Linked DNA regions of Homo sapiens: regions 2, 3, 4 and 5 are each linked to region 1. Evidence: promoter capture Hi-C in 16 types of primary human blood cells and fetal thymus (Javierre and others, 2016). All regions are on one chromosome and are shown on one strand. The core of a region is centred on a gene start or on the middle of the fragment in contact, and the rest is flanking DNA. Distances in the headings are between cores, read along the strand shown.

Region 1 (2,700 bases), core at 1-2,500:
AGATCGCGCCACTACACTCCAGCCTGGGTGACAGAGCACGACTCCCTCTCGAAAAGAAAAAAAAAAGCTTATTAAGCAATAAAGCACAGAGTATCAGACCATATGTTTAGTGCTGAACATTTTATTATAAATGATCAAAAATGTTTAACATACTATTGTTTACAACCTCCCACTACTGTAAAATCTAACATTGCTACTTTCATTTCAGGTAATGCAAAAATACAAGAAGCATTAGCTGTCTGTAGGCAGAAATCTGTTCGAGTCATTCCTTATTACTGAATCCCTAGAATTAATTAAACATCTAGTATGGAGTTGGTATTGTATATAACATTTGCACTCACGTCTTACAAAATAGTCATCTAAGTAGAAAGGTATTCAAGGCAGAAGGATGGAAAAACGTTTGCAGTCTTTTTTGGTTGGCATGAAACACTGACTGCATTCCTCCCAGATTTATAAGAAAGAAATATTTGCAGTCTTACCTGGAGTTAGATGGATGGACTCTCTCAAGGTTATTTTTCAATCTCTGCACATACATACTTATGGAAGTAAGAAAGAAGAGGGAGAAAAGGCAGATCCCCCATAACAGCGGTTAAACACCTGAACTTGCTCCACTATGACAGGGTTTATCATCCACCTCTCAGTCCTCAAGTGGCTGGAAATATGGAAATTGGAGTCCAGGTAGACAGGTGAGTGTACAACCTCTTAAGTGTGGAGCCCTCGGAATTCACAACACTCCCCAAATCGCTTCCTGCGCAGGCGCGGAGTCGGAAGGGAGTCGGAAAGCAGACCCCGGTGCCCCCTAATAAAGCCCCCAGCCGGACGCTGCCGCTACCGGGGTTTGGCAACTTCCGGAAGACCTGTGGCCCAAAGGAGAATCCTGTTGGGGGAGGCGGGGGCCGGTGGTCGCTAACCAATCCGACACCCGCCAGCAGGCTGAAGAGAGGGGCTTTCCCAAAAGGAAAACTTTCCCAAACCTGGGGGATGGGAAGAGAAGACAAAAGGAGCTCCCTTTCCCACTTCCCAGCCGCCCGTCCCAGCCCTCGGCCTCCGCTGCGCGACCCGGGCGGAGGATCCCGGCCGCAGGCCGAGGCGAGAGCCAGGCGGGAGGGCCGCGAGCGGGCTGCCCCTCTCCCCGCCTTGCCGTCCGCCGCTGACGTAACCTGCGAAGTTTGGGGAGGGAGGAGCTCGGGCGGCCGGAGCTGGTCGCTGCGCGCGCCGGGGGGAGGGCCGGGGCTGCGAGAGAGGAAGCTCTTTCGCGGCGCTACGGCGTTGGCACCAGTCTCTAGAAAAGAAGTCAGCTCTGGTTCGGAGAAGCAGCGGCTGGCGTGGGCCATCCGGGGAATGGGCGCCCTCGTGACCTAGTGTTGCGGGGCAAAAAGGGTCTTGCCGGCCTCGCTCGTGCAGGGGCGTATCTGGGCGCCTGAGCGCGGCGTGGGAGCCTTGGGAGCCGCCGCAGCAGGGGGCACACCCGGAACCGGCCTGAGCGCCCGGGACCATGAACGGGGAGGCCATCTGCAGCGCCCTGCCCACCATTCCCTACCACAAACTCGCCGACCTGCGCTACCTGAGCCGCGGCGCCTCTGGCACTGTGTCGTCCGCCCGCCACGCAGACTGGCGCGTCCAGGTGGCCGTGAAGCACCTGCACATCCACACTCCGCTGCTCGACAGGTAGGCAGTCACTGGGGTTCCCTGGAAGAGCCCTCAACTCCTGCATCCCCTCAAGCCCCCTGACAAGCGGGCTCTAGAGCCCAAATGGCAGTGACCGCTTGGGGCCGGCCTCACCTCGTCACCTCTAGGGAGCCCTTCAAGCTTGGGAGATAGGGAGCACCCACCCTTCAAGCTCTGGCACCGTAGGGAGCACAGGCTTCTCTGGAGATGCAGCAGTTGCATTCCTCCACACATCTCTCCATTACCCTTTCTCTCCTTCCCTCTTACTCCTAGGCGTTCTGGCTCCGTACTCCAAAAATCAGCAATCACTGCCTAACTCTAAACGCTGGGTTTACTGAAATTGATGTGTGTTTATATATAGTGGGTGTGGGTTTTGTTTGCTTTGTTTTTTCCTTATTTTTGAAATTGGGCTGTAGGGCTGCACTGTCCAGTAGGTAGCTCTTAGCCACAGGTGGCTATTGAGCACTTGAAATGTGCCCGTCCGAATTGAAGTGTGACCTAAGTGTAAAATACCAGAGTTCGAATGCTTAGTATTTATTAAAAAAAGAACTTATAATATTTTATTATTTGTTTATTGATTATATGCTGAAATAACATTTTTGATATCTTGGGTTAAATATAAGATTAAAATTCATTTTATGTGTTTCTTTTTACTTTATGTGGCCACGAGAAAATTTTAAATTGTATGTGGTGGTGTTCACATTATATGTTTATTGGACCGCACTGCTTTAGAATCAAGGATGTTTTGCTTCTTATTGTTTTTATTTTGGTTTTGGTTTATTATGTGTTGTCAGGAACGTTTTATATCAAACTCAATACTAGCAGTTCAGTTTCTCCCAGTCTCAGTTTCTCTCACAGGGAAGATTAAGTAGAGGAAATGTGTGCTATTTTTGCCACAATAAATTGAACCAAAAGACTGTTAAATGGCCAGAAATTGTAAATGGCTTTCACTTATTGGTTTGTACAGGTTTTAAGGGAAGGTTAGCATTAGTTTCTGTTTTCAGAAGAACATTACAACCGCGTGCCATAGAC
Region 2 (2,700 bases), core at 190-2,689, 820 kb after region 1:
CAAGCCCAACAATTTGAGAGGTTGAGGTGGGAGGATCACTTGAGTCTGGGAATCCAAGACCAGCCTGGGCAACCATATTAGTCTGTTCTCACACTGCTAATAAAGACATACCTGAGACTGGGTAATTTATAAAGGAAAGAGGTTTAATAGACTCACAGTTCCACATGGCTGGGGAGGCCTCACAATCATGGTGGAAGGCAAATGAGGAGCAAAGTCACATCTTACATGGCAGCAGGCAAGAGAGCTTGTGCAGGGAACTCTCATTTATAAACCCATTAGATCTCATAAGACTTATTCACTACCATGAGAACAGAATAGGGGAAACCACTCCCATGATTCAATTATCTCCTACCTGGCCCTGCCCTTGACACGTGGGGATCATTATAATTCAAGGTGAGATTTGGATAGGGGCACAGTCCAATCACATCAGCAACATAGTAAGACCTTGTCTCTACTAAAAATAAAGCAAAAAAACCTAGCTGGGTGTAGTGATGTGTGCGCCTGTAGGCCCAGCTACTGATTAATCTGAAGTGGAAAGATTGCTAGAGCCCAGGAGTTAAAGGTCACAGTGAGCTATGATTGTACCGTTACACTCCAGCCTGTGTGACAGAGTGATTCCCTGTCCCCATCTCTAAAAAAGCAAAGAAAAACAGAAAAGAACAAAAAAAAGGCTTACTACAGTATTTGTTTGAAGTTTCTCATTTACCTTAAAAATTTAACAAACCTGATTTTCATCCTATCCTTCTATATTAAAATGATTTTTAAAATATTGATCTAAGCAATTGCAATTTCACTGCAAATGTTCCAAGTAAAATTGACACTAGAGGAAGATGTGTTATGTTCCATGGTCACATGTATCCTAGGCACAAGGTCCACAGACCCAAGGGTGTGGAAACCTGGATTTGGACACTATGGCCTAACGGATTGTTTTATTACAGACTTGTGATATGCAGCCTCACCCTGGCTCTCATTCTGATCCACAACATTTTCATTCATTAAATATTGACTTTCTGCCATATTATTCACAAATACTGTATTGAAATTTCCCCTCTTCAAATTCGAACCTCATTTGTATTTTCCTCACTGAAATAGATACCCTCTGAAATCCCTCAACTCTCATTTCAAAAGCTAGCAAATCAACACTTAATCCCACCTTTTCCCTTTCTCTTCTAATTCCATGACTGTACCCCTCCTCTGTCACAAATTTAACCTTCCTTGAGCCCTCCTGCCTCATCTGAACTTGTGTCTCTGTCCCCCTCTTTTCTTTGTATTTTTAGTTTCTTCTCAGAATTGAACCCTTCTTTCTAGCCAGTGCTCCCTGTAACCTAGCTAAGCTTACCCAAATACTCGACCTGCTAGCCAAGCATCTTGTCTTTTACTTCTTAGTATTCCTAGATTTCCACTGAGACTTGAAGTGTGTACACAATGAATTATGAAAAGGACTCACCACCCACGGAGAGCAGGCAACTTCAAGTTTAGCTCTACAGTCAGTAACTGCTTTTCAACTTGCACCATAAAAACAACACCCAAATGTATACGAACTCTAAAGCTTTAACTGATAGCAGGTTCAAATATGGACAAAATTCCATTTGTCCCAAATGTCTTTATTAGGAAGTTTGAGGCAACAGCAAATCTTCACATAAACATTATTGAAGAAAAAATTTTCAATCATTAATTTCTGCATTCCAACAAATAACTCCTAGTCAAATTGGAAAACTGATGTTCTTAAACTAGGATCACTTGCCACAAAGAACAAAGTGGCATCTTGCAACAAGTCATTTTAAATAAGGCTGGAAGACATCTTTGTGTTTCCTTTTTCAGAGTGTATTCATCAGTAAGGTACTAGCCTAAGATAAACCAGCACCATGGAGCCCTGAGATCACCATGGCTAAGTGGAAGGTGGTTTTGAGGTACTTTTGGCTAAGTACCAGGTAGGACTCAGAAATCTGAGCAGCAGCAGAACTGGGTCAAAGCCTAAGAACCTCTCTAAAATATCCACTTGCTGATCTGCTATCATTAACTACACTCTCCTGAGAATGAAATCTGAAAAGGAAAGTAGCTGAATCCAAAGGTCTTTTGTGAAGTCTAATTGGAATAGAGGTTTTGAATATAAATTCCTAAAAGACACAAGAAGGTATGATGGGGGATAGCGGGGGAGCAGGGATAACATTCCAACTGGTTTACATAATAAAAACCAAAGAGACTGGTAATTAGTATGCACATTTATTTGACATTCTTTGATAACCTTTCCTCTGCTTCACTTTTGCGAAGGGCTATTCAGCATTTTCCCAGACTTACAATTTGGCCCAGATGCTAGAAATAAGCAGCTAATAGAGACCTGGTGTACAGAAGAGAGTAATAGGAAATGCACACAAGTAGATAAATTTGTGGTCTGCAGCCTGAGCCTCAGCACTAAGAGGTCAGTGGGTTATTCTCAAGGACACTCAAGAACTCCCCCTGCCGTTTCTTGCAAACGTAGGACACCCACTGCATTATGTCAACTGAGGAAAGAATATTAAAAGACAAAGTTTGTGACCCATGTTAACTCACACATTTCCTCAAAAGAAGAGTTGTGTATTATTTTAAGATCCATTACTGGGCTGCCAGTGACAATTACTCAGCCACTTATTAGTAAAACTGAGTGAAATGCTGTGAAGGAGTTATTATTTCCTGAAATTGTCTTGATGAAAAAGAAAAAAA
Region 3 (2,700 bases), core at 111-2,610, 840 kb after region 1:
TTATACAGTCTTCTTAAAAAAAAGTTCTGCTCCTGTAATGTTGTTGAAATATATTTGGACACCTAAAGTGTGTGCCATAAAGACTGCTTTTCTCCTAGGAACATTATGCCTGTAATTAGTAGATATTATCACGAAGATGATAGAATTTAAGTTTATGGATTGGGACCCATGCAGTACAGAAAGCCCGGCAACCAATGACTAACCAGTCCGGATTCACTCAGCCTTTGCTACCAAAAAAAATCTTAGTAAGCTAGACACAAAAGGACAAATATTGTATGATTCCATTTACATGAGGTACTTAGAATAGGCAAATTCACAGAGACAGAGTTAGTATAGTGATTACCAGGGTACAGGGAAGAGAGAAATAAAGATTTGTTTAACGAGTATATGGTTTCAATTTGGGATGCAAAAATGTTCTGAAGATGGATGATCGTGATGATGGTACAACAATGTAAATGTACTTACTGTCTCTTAGCCGTACATTTAAAATAGTTAAAATTGTAAGTTTCATGTTATGTATATTTTCCCAAAATAAAAAATTTTTAAGCAATAACACCACCAATAGTATTCACTAGCCTTGAATGCCCTGCTATATGATATGCTAAGTGCTTTTCATGAATTTTGTTATTTAACCCCTAAGTTAAGCACTGCAGAGAACATGATACAAAAGCTTAAGTTACCTGCTTAAGCTTTACACAGGTAGAAAATGGCAGAGTAGGCTTTGGACCTAAGTTTATTTGCAAAGCCCACACTATATCATTATCATTATATGTTTAGGACTTTATAGAACTTTTTAAAGTTTAGGTGAAACTCTCATTTTTATTTTTTCATATCAAATGAAGAACAATGTTTAAATAAATAAAATCACCAAGCCTCAATGTTCTAATGCCAACAAGTGGCCTTACTGTCAGCTGATCTTTTTCTCTTCTTAAACTCTCCTTCATCTGTGGAACCTCAAACATACAACAAAGGCAATTCCAGGCCTAGCATCCTTTTCTCTGATAGTCAGTTGTAATTCTGACAATAAGAGGGAAGAAGAGAAAAGCGAATTCACTCCATTTCCCTAGCTGTCCTCCACTATTGGTTTCAGATCATGCTGCCACTTATGAGCACCTGATTGCCTCTTTTTCAACCTGGGCCAGTTCACTCCTCCTTAGACAATCTTATGGGACTCTGCTCCCAGAAAATCACCATATTGATGCCAACCTTAATGTGGACCCCGGATTGGCATAGCACACTACAGCCAAGAACTTCTGGCTTAAGCCATCCTCTCACCTCCACTTCCTGAGGGCCTCTTATATGATTTCTAGAATGGACTTCTGTTAAGTTTGTTTTTGCCCCATATCACACCCTGCTTCACAAACTCACTTCTTCTCCCATGGGTAGTCCCACCAGGGGCTCTACCTCCTTGACAGGCAAGTGACCCCAAGAGACAGAATCATTTTGAAGAAGTAGATGTTGATCTGCTGCCACTTAGAGAGAGCTTGCTTGAAAAGAAGCCAGTACCTAGATCACCAGAGCTGAGAGATGCAGAGAGTCCTGCTGACATTGTCTAAGAATGTCTGACCTTTATTCCAGGAATGGTTGGCACAAAATGGGTGTCCAATTATATTTTATTTGAAATAACATTTCATCAGACCACTTTATCAGAACTCCAAGATCTTGATTTCTGAAATGAGGCCTTAAGTACAATCTTTTCTCATTTCATTTCTTCCGTTTATTTATTCAATGAATATTTTATATCACTGAATTTTGTTCTTATGACACAAGAACATAAACAGATAAGTATGATATTCTGGTAAATGCAGTGTCAGAAACATAGAGTATTACGGGAGCACAAAGGAAGCACCTCAACCCCTGTGGGAGGAGCACTGCAGGCTGAGGATGGAAGGTGCAGGCCCCAGTAGGGTTGTGCTTGGTGGTTTAGGAACACCAAGGAGGCCAGCTGGCCTGTCTCCTTCGCTGCCCAACTTTTGACTTTCTCCTCCTGTTAAGGTGGTTAACCAGGTAATGTGATGAGGCCTATTTTTATCAAGCTTATCTTTATCCTTTCTTCCTTGTAGGTCTCTTTCACCCTTCCTGCTATGAGTACCTATGAGTAGAGTACCCTAACTCTAAACCTCCAGTCCTAATCTCCGCACACGACTCCAAGCAAGAATTTCCGATTGCTTTCATTAACTCTCCTCTTGGGTCTCTCCCTAGTTTCTCCAGATCTCCATGCTCCCCAATGAATTCAACATCCTCTCCACCTCACAGCACATCCATTCACCTCGTCTTCCTGGTAATATTTTCCCTGATAATGGCCCACTTTATTAGGTCTATGAGGTTTACAAGCTCTGAGTCACCTTCTTTGCTTCCCCCTGCCTTGTATTTCATATGTCATCGGGTATTCAGACCAGATCACCAATAGTCAAAGCTCCCTAAACAGTCCCTAGCAAGTCACTAAACTAGATCAGATGTATGTAAGTGGACATTCTCTGGCTATTGCAATCAAGAGGAAATGAATTTTTCCTCTTTGATTTATCTGCAACATGTTTTATCTTTACCTGGAAACTTCTATTGAGAAGACATCTGGAAAACCACAAACCACACACTTTCAGATGAGCTTCCATGATTAATGCATTGTGAAAAAAAAAATCATTTTAAACACAATGAAAACATTTGAGTGTAAGTGTTCGTGCGTCACTACAATCTCATTTA
Region 4 (2,700 bases), core at 48-2,547, 850 kb after region 1:
TTTTAGATCTTGTAAAGCTCACTTGCCATCTCTTTGGAGACACCTCATGTGTCTGTGGTTAAGTCATAGCCTGAGTTAAGGATTATTAATTTTATGTGGGAGGTTACCTTTGGTAAAAAATTCAAAAGCTGAAAATATCCACTGTTTGTTCCTGCTGAAATCTGGTAATAAGAAATTTTTTTAAAGGATTTTTTTTGAAAGTTCTGTAGTTAAAATTGATTTAATTTGGACTATATGGGTACAGATATTGTTTTAAGGCTCTTGCTCTCCCTCTGTAAAAACTACTCAGTCAACTGAATTCTGTTTCTCATTTACTCCTGTTTGTCCCTCCTTCCACTGTATCTAATCTCTGACTTTTGGGGGCACCAGGATTAATTTGCATTATGAGAAAATTTAACCTTAATGTATAATAGCTAGATAAGAGATATACTTTTTTAAATGGCTGATGTCAGTTGCTTACAGTGAACGATGATCACCACAGGGTTGTACGTCTTTCTTTCTATGTTGAAATAAGGAAAGCATGCTTGTAAACACCTAGAAGGTACAGAATGGAAGATGGGGTGATTATAGCGTAGGCTGATTGGCATTGGGTTGCCAAGCGGCCTAGGAGAAATGTCCTTTCAATGAGATACACTGTGGAATGATTGCACTGTCTTGTCTTATAGTATTTCCCTCTTTTGGAGACCCCAGGATTTGGTGTAAAAATGAGATCCTTGATCTTGGGGATCTGTTTTGCCTTCCAGCTGTGCCTGCTTATTGGACCCTAAAAACTGCATGCTTTCCTGACCCTGTTCCCTAAAAGACTCCAACCTGAAGCCAATAATCCAATCAAGAAACAGATCTTTAAAAAGTCTCTCTGTGTAAGGTGGAGGTTGCAGTGAGCTGAGATCACGCCATTGCACTCCAGCCTGGGCAACAGAGCAAGACTCCGTCTCAAAAAAAAAAAAAAAAAAAAATCTCCCCGTGTAAGCGTGTCTGTTTTTCCTGGTCATCTTGACTAAACTTTTATCCACACCATTTTCCCTTGGTTTAAATAAAATATAAGTTCTTTATTTTGTTTCACCTAAAAATTATCCATTTAAAAACACAAATTTAGAATTGCCTGGCTGACAATTATTTAGATCAGAGAACAGATAATCAAGAGACTAATGGTCTGAGGTCAAAAAGGAAAACTTAAAAACTGACAAAGAATCTTATCACAGTTAGCCAGGCAGGGTGGTGTGCACCTGTAGTCCCAGCTACTTGGGAGGCTGAGGTGGGAGGATTGCTTGAGCTCAGAAGGTCAAGGCTGCAGTGAGCCATGATTATGTTAGTGCACTCTAGCCTGGACAACAGAGACACTGTCTTAATTAATAATAATAATAATAACAATCATCATCATCATCATCTTATCCCCCCACCAGATCTGCTTCTGTCTATTTATATATGCTGGGAACATATTTTGTTACCAAAATACATAAAAGAACTGTAATTAATTGGCTTTAACAAAATTCTGTATATAAGCAAGTTGGCCAAAATTAAAAGGATATTACTTAGTTCTTCCATAAATTAAAATATTAAAATAAGAGTACACTGATGCAGGGCCAGAATCTAGGTCCATCTGTCTAAATAACAGAGTTTCCTTAGAACACTGATATTCCCTTTAATAAAAAATTAGAAAGGATTATAAAAATAGACATAAAAATTATACCTCATAGTCAAACTAATTAAAATTGGACAGATTTATTTACAAAATATTAAAAATTGAGTATAACATTAAGAATACACTAATGCAAAATTAAAATTTGGCTTTCTCTTTTAAATAAGATTTTCATAACATTGAGAAATAAAAAAAATTTATTTGTCATTTAAATACAGGGGAGAGAGAAAAGACAGTTTCAGTTGGCTTCATGCTATCTGTATTGGTCTTAACAAGTTGAGACTCCTCTCTATTAACAAGTAAAGATTTTTGCCTTTTTGAAATTTTAAATTATTATTTTGGCTAAATAAATGACTTACAATGACCTAGAATTCTATTTTGTGATATCAAGTGTTAAACGTTAGATATTTGACAAACATTCCAAAATCAAATTCTGACTTAAGTATATTTTTGACCTCATTAACTTTTAAGTATTAGGTCCCCTGAAGTCCAAAAGAGACGTATTTGACTTATTTGGTATACTAAAATCATACAGAGAGCATTGTCAAATATAAAATGGTATTCAACTTTTTTTTGGCTGCAGTCAATAAATGTGTTATTAATATGTGTTCCAACATTATATACTTTTCCTATAATTCTGATATGACTGAGTATATGTTATAAATAATAATAATTACTATATGGTTATGTGCCATAAAAATGACCAGGTTTCCTTTTCAGTTGCATCTTTAACTGTGGCTGTCCTGACTTTTGTCTTCCACAGATAACTGTCTTGTTTTGATCCTTTTCAAAAGGCGGTTTATAAGCAGCTATAAGATGCTAATGGGTGCTCTTGGATGCAGGTGTCTGATAATTGTAGAGACTGTGCCATTAAAATGAAAAAGAAAAAAAAATTAACTTCCAGGACTGTCATAGAGAGCTAGTGTGTTCATGAGGACTGCTGGTCCAATACTGGGCAAAACAGGAATTGCATGGACTGAATTAATAAAAGACCAACATCAGGTGCAGTGGCTCACATCTGTAATCACAGCACTTTGAGAGACTGAGGCAGGAGGACTGCT
Region 5 (2,700 bases), core at 190-2,689, 870 kb after region 1:
GGAAAGTATTCTAAATCCAAGTGCTGAGGGTGGTTGGGGGAGGAGATAACAGAAGCAGAGCATACTGGGGGTATGGTAAGTGTGAGAGGGGAGGAACTTGGAACTTGCACAAGGGGGTGCCATTAAATGAGTACCCATCACTCAGTAAAATCGTAAATAAGTTAGGCATCTTAAAGCTGGGTCTTTAAATTCTGTAACTGTTTTCTGTTACTTCTCTTAAAAGAAACAAGATATATTTACCGAAAACTCCTAAGTTTGCTATGTATCAACAAATGGAAACACCATGTAAAGAGATGAAAAAAATATGGGGGCGGGGGCGGGTGCTTTGTGAATTAGATGCTACCTTCTGTTTAAGACATGCTGAATTCGAGGTGCCTCTTAGATATCCAAAAAAGTTCATGGATGTCAGTGAAGGGGTCTGAAGCTATGGAAAGAGGGCTGAGCTAAAGACAAGTGCTGGGGAGTAGGATGAGGGCAGGCGGAGGGTCTTGACCCAAATACACATATTAGCAACCATCAGAGTAACTGGATTTGCTGTAAAAAAGTTTTCAGAGTAGGACTAGAAAACTTAAGCTAGGATCTTCAAAAACACAGATATAAGGGGTGAAAGGAAGAAGTTAAGCATAAGCTAGGCAAGTGGAAAAAAAAAGTTAAGACAGTGGTATCAAAGAAACTAAGGAAAGAGTGTTTTAATAATGAAGGCACTGTCAGGAGTCTTAGACTACTAACAGGTCAAGCTAGATGAGAAATGGAAAGTACATCTCATTTAGACAAGCTTACTGACAGCCCTAAGAAGAGCAGTTTGAGGGAAGGAAGTGGCAGGGCCACAGATAGCAAGGGTGAAATGGTTACATCTTTAAGTGGGACTTTCCCAGCTGCACTTCTGATCCCAGGGCCTGACGATTTGTACTGTCCCCCAACACACCTTCCCCATCTTCCTTAGCTGAGTGAAGTGTTAAAAAGGGTTTAGAAAATGGAAATAGATAGTACAGACAATTGTTTTAAAAGTTTCCTTATTAAAATGAAATCAAAGAATCAAACACAGGCAGAAGGTCAAGCCTCATACAGAAAGACAGGCATCTCTTAATGCTAACTGGAAAGCAAGCTAAGCAGGGGCAGGAACATAAGAAGTTAACAGATTTCTTATATGCAAATTCAGGGGTTTCTCAGTTGAAGGCTTCTGATTTTTCTGTTAAGCAAGAGAGGTAATCTGCTGACAATAAAGATGGAAACAGGCGAAGGAGTCAAAATTGTGAGGAGAAGTGAAGATAGTTTAAAATAATTAACTATTTCAAGACAACAGCAGGGGAGTGAGAAGACAAAGGAGAGAGATGGGATGTGGGGCAGTGTCGAGAAACTAGGTGAAGATTTGCAACCATGAGTTAAATATCAATGTGTCTGGTTACATGACTTCCCCAAAAGAATAGGGGCAAAGCAGATAAAACTTGGATGTATTCAGGTTTGGGGTTTTGGTTAGTAGATACATAGAAAAATAACAGGCATGGAAGAGTAACTAAATAGACCACAGAATCTAAGCTGGATTTCAGTACAGTTTGAGCATTCCTAACCCAGAAATTCCAAACCTCAAAGGCTCCAACCCGAAGTTTTTGAGCACTAACAAGACACTCAAAGAAAATGCTCATTCGAACACTTTAGATTCCAGACATTTGGATTAGGGATACTCAACAGGTAAGCACAATGTAAATATACTGAAATCTGAGGAAATTCAAAATCTAAAACATTTCTGGCTGCAAGCATTTCAGATAAGGGATAATCAAACTGTACAAGAAATGGTTGTGGCTTCCTATGAACAGTTATTTTGTATTGCTTTATTTTAGGCTGACAGCCATAAAACTCAGAGGCAAATTTGTGGCTCGTTTCTAGAAAATAAGAGGAATCTCATGAATATACTTATTCTGCTAGCTTTAACCTAAGCTCTCTTTTTTTCCTTTTGTATATATTTTGTAAGCTGCATTAAATGCCTCCTGATACAAATTAAGCTGTAACTAATATCAATTAAATCAAACAAGCGTAAACATGTCTTCACTTCTTTTCATAAATCCCTAGGCTAAGAAATATGTGCTTTCCCCACTGTCTTGTATTCTAAGCTTAAATTTTCCAGCTTAGCCAAAGGGTGAGAAATCACTGAATAAAAGAAGATTCTATAGTTTAAAAAGCATCATGAACTTCATTGACTATAGTTGAGTAATTTACTAAGATGCATAAAAATATAAAGTTTCAAATAGTAAAAGTTCTCTCTAAGCTACTAACAATGAGGGATTCTAATTACTCAAATGTAAAGTCAAAGGGAAAAAAATGTTACAAATAGATTACTTATTTTCAGGAAACTACAAAAAAAATGCTTAACTTCATACTAAAAAAATCTGAGAATGCAATACATATTAGATAATTTTACAGTTCTTTGGGACAATCATAAATGTTAATTTATATACTGTGCTATAGATATAATGCATAGAAAGTTTAACTTTATATGATTAGCATGCTGTATTATATAAATAAACCAACTGTAACAAAAACATTTAACTTAGATTCAGATTATCTGAAGAAAATATAGCTCTGGGGAAAAAAAGTAAAGAAAAATAAAAACTGACTCTTTGCATGTCAAAAATATTACAAAATTTTTCTTAAAGCAAGTACTCTTATTGATAAGCTTTATTTAGGCAATATTTCAATGTAAAT

The links. The method cuts DNA at HindIII sites, captures the fragments that hold promoters and counts their contacts. A CHiCAGO score of 5 or more calls a contact.
Region 2: a contact is called between a fragment that was not itself captured here and the fragment with the promoter of RIPK2 in region 1, in 5 of 17 cell types (erythroblasts, naive B cells, total CD8 T cells and 2 more). The highest score is 7.7, in erythroblasts.
Region 3: a fragment that was not itself captured here is called in contact with the fragment with the promoter of RIPK2 in region 1 in 2 of 17 cell types (activated CD4 T cells and erythroblasts); the score reaches 6.0 in activated CD4 T cells.
Region 4: a contact is called between a fragment that was not itself captured here and the fragment with the promoter of RIPK2 in region 1, in 1 of 17 cell types (total B cells). The highest score is 6.3, in total B cells.
Region 5: a contact is called between a fragment that was not itself captured here and the fragment with the promoter of RIPK2 in region 1, in 8 of 17 cell types (total B cells, naive B cells, activated CD4 T cells and 5 more). The highest score is 24.3, in total B cells.

The regions. Positions count from the first base shown.
Region 1 is chr8:89,756,566-89,759,265 of GRCh38, forward strand. It overlaps RIPK2 (receptor interacting serine/threonine kinase 2), which reads left to right and starts at 1,251. Exons shown (of 11, transcript NM_003821.6): 1 at 1,251-1,668. The coding sequence starts at 1,496. It overlaps PARAIL (palmitic acid regulated anti-inflammatory lncRNA), which reads right to left and starts at 1,146. Exons shown (of 5, transcript NR_125822.1): 1 at 480-1,146. RefSeq lists a silencer at 997-1,116 and an enhancer at 1,657-1,726. The HindIII fragment of the contact is 1,742 bases long and covers 66-1,807 here.
Region 2 is chr8:90,577,468-90,580,167 of GRCh38, forward strand. No RefSeq gene overlaps it. Among named protein-coding and RNA genes, the nearest start is that of LINC01030, 27 kb to the right of the region's middle. RefSeq lists an enhancer at 1,915-2,700. The HindIII fragment of the contact is 215 bases long and covers 1,333-1,547 here.
Region 3 is chr8:90,594,871-90,597,570 of GRCh38, forward strand. All of the region lies in intron 1 of LINC01030 (long intergenic non-protein coding RNA 1030), which reads right to left. Among named protein-coding and RNA genes, the nearest start is that of LINC01030, 9.8 kb to the right of the region's middle. The HindIII fragment of the contact is 1,347 bases long and covers 688-2,034 here.
Region 4 is chr8:90,611,063-90,613,762 of GRCh38, forward strand. No RefSeq gene overlaps it. Among named protein-coding and RNA genes, the nearest start is that of LINC01030, 6.4 kb to the left of the region's middle. The HindIII fragment of the contact is 3,080 bases long and covers 1-2,700 here.
Region 5 is chr8:90,627,160-90,629,859 of GRCh38, forward strand. The region is part of intron 2 of TMEM64 (transmembrane protein 64); the gene reads right to left. Among named protein-coding and RNA genes, the nearest start is that of TMEM64, 18 kb to the right of the region's middle. The HindIII fragment of the contact is 1,333 bases long and covers 774-2,106 here.